Linked DNA regions of Homo sapiens: region 2 is linked to region 1. Evidence: promoter capture Hi-C in human tissues and cell types (Jung and others, 2019). All regions are on one chromosome and are shown on one strand. The core of a region is centred on a gene start or on the middle of the fragment in contact, and the rest is flanking DNA. Distances in the headings are between cores, read along the strand shown. Region 1 holds the start of VSTM5 (V-set and transmembrane domain containing 5). Region 2 has its middle 93 kb from the start of CWC15.

What was found. The method cuts DNA at HindIII sites, captures the fragments that hold promoters and counts their contacts. A contact is called where the count stands out against the background at its distance.
Region 2: a fragment that was not itself captured here is called in contact with the fragment with the promoter of VSTM5 in region 1 in 1 of the 25 tissues and cell types used here (dorsolateral prefrontal cortex).

Annotation. Positions count from the first base shown.
Region 1 is chr11:93,849,072-93,852,209 of GRCh38, forward strand. VSTM5 (V-set and transmembrane domain containing 5) reads right to left here and starts at 1,547. Exons shown (of 4, transcript NM_001144871.2): 1 at 1,341-1,547. The coding sequence starts at 1,431. The HindIII fragment of the contact is 15,680 bases long and covers 1-3,138 here.
Region 2 is chr11:94,879,106-94,882,243 of GRCh38, forward strand. No RefSeq gene overlaps it. Among named protein-coding and RNA genes, the nearest start is that of CWC15, 93 kb to the right of the region's middle. The HindIII fragment of the contact is 5,689 bases long and covers 1-3,138 here.

The DNA.
Region 1 (3,138 bases), core at 297-2,796:
AGGTCAAAAATGTTAGATCGTTCAGTCACCTTGTATAAGTTAACATAATATTATTTTTTCTCTCTCTCTCTTCTTTTCTTTTTCTTTCGCTTTGGAGAAGGTCTCATTCTGTTCCCCAGGCTAGAGTGCAGTGGCACAATCAGGGCTCACTGAAGCCTCAATCTCCTGGGCTTAAGTGATCCTTTCACCTCAGCTCCCCCGCCGCCCACCCCAGTAGCTGGGCCTACAGGCACAGGCCACCACACCCAGCTAATTTTTTCATATTTTTACTACAGACAGTTTGCCATGTTGCCCAGGCTGGTCTTGAACTCCTGGACTCAAGGGATCCGCTGGCCTCGGCCTCCCAAAATGCTGGGAATACAGGCATGAGCCCCTGCGATTGGCTTATAACATTTCTGTGCCTCAGTTTCCTCACTTGTGAAACAGGAATAAGAGTAGTTTATTAGGGTTGCCCTAAGGACTAAATGAGAGAGGTCTTGTAAAGTCTGAGGGATGGTGAATGCATAAATGCTTAATAAGTGCTGGCTCTTACTACAAGGCCTCTCACCTCCAGCGGCCCTGCTCTGTCATTCTCTAAACCTCAGTTGGCCCATGTGTAAGATGGGAGTGCGAATGGTAATGATTAAATGAGAAAGTAAAACTGTGCTAAGATCTGTTGTTTGTGTCCAAGAGAGCCTCTGGGACTACGCTTCGCATCCAGGCTCACCAGGCTGGGGATTCCGGGTCCGGCCATCCAAAGCAAATCTACTCAGTGCGCTGGTCGCGAGGACCACCTCCAGCCTGGGGACTTCAGGCCACAACGCCCAACCCAAACCCCAGAACCGTTTTTCTCACGGGAGCAGGCTGCTGTGGGTTCGTCTGACTGATAAGGAGGCCTGATTATTCTCCTGGGAGATGACCAGGAAGGCCATGGAGGGGTCCCCACAGTAGGGGGCGGCGCACGGACTGCAATCTGGTTATTCCAGGAAAAAGAAATAAAAAATGTTGCAGAGGCGGCGGCCACAGGGCTGGGAGCCGGTTATCTCTGGGCCACCTTCCAGCTCTGATAACCGTAGGCCGGGCTCGCCGGGTGGGGCGGGCGCCCCGAAGTGGGCCGGGGCGCCGCGGCCGGTAGCCTCTGCTTTGCCCAGCCCCTCCCGCTACGGTCGGCGCCGGGTCTCCAGGCCTCGCCCAGCCCCACGAGGAAGCGGCGCGGTGCCTGCCAGCCGAGCTCACCGCGCGCCCTCAGCCGGACAAGGTGGGCGAGGGCCAGGGGGGCCGCTGCTAGACCCCGGGGCCCCGCCCGTGCCCCCCTACCCATTCCCGCTCCCCCAGCACCCGGGGCGTCCCCCGGAGCTTACTCTGCAGACAGCGGGCTGCGGCCAGGCAGAGGGCGAAGAGTCCTAGGGAGATGCCTCGGGTCTTCCTCCTCCCGCTGGGCAGAGGCCTCATGGGCGAGCCCGGGGCCTCGCGGGCCGGGGTGTGTGCTGGCCGCACCGCGCTGCAGCTCCTATGCAGCCTTCTCTCTTCCTCCGCCTCTGGCTGCCGCAGGTTCTTTAGGGCCAGATGCAGATGAGCTGGTTGTACTCTGGTTGAACCAGTTCCCAAGGATGGGGGGGCGGGGGGGGGGGGGTGTTGCGCGGGAGAGAATTAATATGGGAAGGAATGGGAATGCACAGACTCAGAGGTAAATAATGGCAAATAATGAGCAGCCTCCTTCCGTTCACACCCATTTTACTGGTATTGATTCAAGGTTCGGCTGGATGCTAGGTGGCAGGAAGGAGGGAAAGTACTAGCTATTGCTTCAGGACAGAGCTAGTCATTGGCATCATGGGCAAAGGGAAGGCTTTTAGGAAAGTGAAATGACAGCCTGGAGTGAGAGGGATGAGGGGAGGGGGTGGGGAGACTCAGGCTGCCCTGATGGGAACCACTGCACAGTGATGATATCCATCCATCTATCCACCCATCAGTCCATCCATCCATCCCTCCATCCATCCAGGAAATGTTCACCAATCGCCTGCTTTATTTGCACAGAGCCTCGCACATGGCAGTCACTCAAATAAACCGGTGGAATGAAGCTAGGCACTGTGTTAAGTGCTGGGGATACAAGGATGTGGGCACCTGTTTAGAAATCCTAGCAAGGGGTGGGGGCTGCAAAAAATGAGCAACCGCTAGGCCGAGGCGGGCGGATCACGAGTTCAGGAGATCGAGACCATCTTGGCTAACACAGTGAAACCCCGTCTCTACTAAAAATACAAAAAAAAAAATTAGCCGGGCGTGGTGGTGGGTGCGTGTAGTCCTAGCTGCTCGGGAGGCTGAGGCAGGAGAATGGCGTGAACCCGGGAGGCAGAGCTTGCAGTGAGCCGAGATAGCGCCACTGCACTGCAGCCTGGGCGACAGAGGGGGACTCCGTCTCAAAAAAAAAAAAAAAAAAAAAAGCAACCGCTGTACAGTGCATATGTCGCTAGGATCAGAGAGGCCCAGCATGCTCTGGGGGCTCAGAGCAAGTGTAATTAGTCTCCAGGAGAGGTCGATGGAGGGGTGGGGCAATCAGTTTTGGTCCAAACTAGTCATGAAATTATATTTCACTTTGTCAAAACTAGAATTTCTAGCCTCACTTGCCACAAGGGGTAGCAGTGTGACCCAGTGCTGGCCAGTGATATTTAAGGGGAAGTCTTTTTGAGGTGTTTCTGGAAAAGTTTTTGCTTTCCTCATAAAAAGGACAGCTAAGGCTGGGACTTCCCCTCCCCCTTTCTTTCTGCCTTGAAAACATTTATTCTGTTCAGATCTGTGGCATGTGTCTTGCATCCATTAAGTTACATAAATGAATGCAAAAACCATCATGCTAAGTAAGGATGGTGGAGCAGGAAGATAGAAAGACCTAGAAGGGCCGGGTGTGATGGCTCACACCTGTGATCCCAGCACTTTGGGAGGCCGAGGCAGGTGGATTGCATGAGCCCAGGAGTTTGAGGCCAGCCTGGACAACATACTGAGACCCCATCTCTACAAAAAAAATATAAAAATTAGCCTGGGCATGGTGGCCCACGTCTGTAGTACTAGCTACTTGGGAGGCTGAGGCAGGAAGATCACTAGAGCCCAGGAGGCAGAGGTTGTAGTAAGCCATGAATGTACCACTGCACTCCAGCCTGGGTGACAGAA
Region 2 (3,138 bases), core at 254-2,753, 1.0 Mb after region 1:
AGGGACCAACAGGCAGAAGCTGTGTCAGGTCTGCACAGGGGCTGGGGACCTGCTCTTGGTTTTCCCCAGGTACCTTGTGAAGCCACAGAACTTGTGGCCCAGGAGTGCTGAGTGTAAAATGGAAGTGTCTGTGAGTCTAATGAAATTCTTGATTGTACCTGACAGGCATCTATGCCTGGTTTCCCGATCACCTGAACCTTGGTGCCTTCCCTTCCATATACATGGCTCTGCTTCTGCCCCATCTACTCAGTCATCTCTGCTAGGGTCCCCAGTCACCTTGGGCTCCTCCCCCACTCTCTCCTTTAGCTAGTTGGTCACCTGTTCCTGCCTACTTCACCCTCCCATGTTGCTTCTGTACTTTTATTTTCTCCATCCCCATGGCCTTAGTTCAAGACTTCATCTCTCTCATGGACAATTACAGTAGCCTTCTGCCTACTGTCTCATCCTACTCTATTCTTGACAAGGACACCAGAGAAACAAGAGTAATAATGACATTGATTCATTGTCATTATGCACCCAACCTCCCGTGAGCCTTTCCCATATTAGCACATTGAATTCTTACAATCACTGTTATTATAGTTCCATTGTACTGATGGAGAAACTAAGAAGTAGGGAATTTAAGCCTCTTGCCCAAAGTCCTAGAGCTTGTGAGTGCAGGGCTGGGATCCAAGCCCAGATAGACTGGCTCCAGAGCCTCCAGACCACACTGTTCTTCCCCAACCCGAGTTTCTAGAGGGATGTCTGATAATGTCACTCTTTTGAGGGAAATTGCCACAGCACTATTAGCCCCCTGTGGCCTTCAGGATAAAGCTGTGGCATTCATGCCCTGCACAGTCTGACCCCTGCCCTCTTCCCTGACTAGTTTCTCTCCACTTCCCTTTCCACCCCTACCTTCAAGTTGCTCTAGGAACCACACTGTGTCCATAATCTACTTTGTGTGTTTCCATTTCTGCACCTATCCGTGGGGTCCCTGGGATTGGGATGCCTCTGGGATTGCGATGTCCATCTGTCCAATCTAACTCATTCTTCAAGGTGAGGCTCAAATGTCACTTTTCTCAGGAAGGTATTTCCCGTCACCAGGGTCAAAATTAATTGCTCCTCTTCCATTATTAGCTGAGTCACCTGGAGAAAGTTGTTGAACTTCTGAAAACTTCTTCTTTGCAAGATGTCATGGAGCAAGTACCATGTCTGTTTTTTCATTAATGTGAATCAGGCACCTAATGCAGTTGCTGGCATACCACAGGTGCTTGAGTGTTGACTGAATGAGTCAACCCTTGAGTGTTGACTGAATGAGTCAAGGATTTAATGAGAGAAGAGTTGTAATGTATCTAAAATGACAGTGCTGTGCATCATAGCATCCATCCAGCTCTTGCCCCAAGCCGTCTCCTGTTATAGTGAACTACGTACACAAGTGTCTGTCAGCTCATCTGTTTGGGGTAGGAACCCCGACTTGTACCTAGAGTAGATGCTCATTAAAAGTTAAACCGACTGTGAATTCTCCCAAGCTTCTTATTGCATATGTTCAGTGACTGTTGTCAGGGGAACTGGAAGCAGAGATCCTTAAGTAAAATTTTATTTAAAAATTACTGTGCAAGTAATGCTATTTGTTTTTAAAAACAATCAAATGAGAATACAGAGGAGAATACGAAGAAGCCACTACCTCCTCTAAATTGCTGCATGTAGCCATTCTGTTAAGTCTGGAGGATTTCCTTCTAGGCTCCTCTACAGATATGTACAACCAAATAAATAGATATGAGTGAATGAATATAAGACCATGCTACTCATACAACTAGGTTTTTTTCATTCAACAGTAGGTCATAGACAGGTTTCCTAGGCAGCACGTGTAGATCTCTCTTATTGTGGTTTATGGTGGTATGTGTTCCTTTGTGTGGAGGAAGGGGAGTTTACTGAAACCTGAGGGTGCTCCTGCACCACCACCCAGCTCCGCAGAGCATTTCCCCAGCAATAAGGGAGAGCTAAGAGCATGGGGAATCTGGGGAGATGTTTTCTCTCCTAAGAAAGAGGCCAAAACTTGCAATATATAAGTCAGGCCTGGCCAAATGCTGGCCCTGTGTTCCTCCAGTGCATCAAAATGTTTCCATTCGCCTGTCCAGGCACTAAAAAAATTGATGATTTTCATGATGACATTGGGATCCCAAGGACTCAACAGCACCATGGCCCCAGCTTGATGGCTCAGCCCAGTCTGGCCTGGAATGCCCTGTTTCCATCCAGAAACCCTCTTTCAGCTCTCTGAGGGGCTGATTTTTCCATCCAGTGCCCTACCCTTTGGCCTAGAGAACACATTTTCCTGGCATAATTCGACTCAGCCCTAGTCCAGTCTGACTTTGTTCAGTGAGTTGATGACATTGATCCTTCCCTTGTCCCTGGCACTTCCATTTTGCAGAGCATCTATCAGAGTTTTACAAATATTTAGCTTTAGGAATAGCCTGTAAAAAGAAGCCCAGTTTATGATTCACTCATCAGGTTACTACTAAAAATTAATTATGTGCCCAGCATGCTTCAGATCTTGGGGGGAAGCCAGATAATACAGAATGCCATGGTGATCCTGCCCTGAAGGTAGACGAGGGGCAGGGAAGTGGACTGATTTCCTACTGTGCGCCAAGCATTTTATGTCATCCGTGGCATTTGGTCCTCATAACAGCAAGGACAGTGAGATTCAGAGAGGCTAAGAAGATTACCAAGGTCTACACTTACCCAAGTAAGCAGCAGGGTGGCATTTGAGCCCAGGCCTGGATGACTTTAAAAGTCAGGACGTTTCCACAGCATCATGCAACCTCCATGTTCAAGTCTAATTGAGGTCACAAGTATGATAAACAATTTGATCTTTGTCCTTGTTGGAGGATGTACACCAGGATCTCTGGACATATCTATCAAGCCCCCGCCACCCTCGGCATTTGGAGGGAAATTGGCTGATGGTACCCTGCCATGTACTGCAGGCCCCAGCTCTGAGACAGCACGGTAGACGACCCGCCTGGGTAGAGCAGACAGAGGCCCCACCAAAGTTTGCATGTGGAAGTCTCACATTTGGATACATTTAGAGAACCCAATCTGAATCTTCCCCCACTTCTATCTCTGAGCGCTCCGTTGCCGCCAGCAGGGGCCATCTACTGCCTTGTC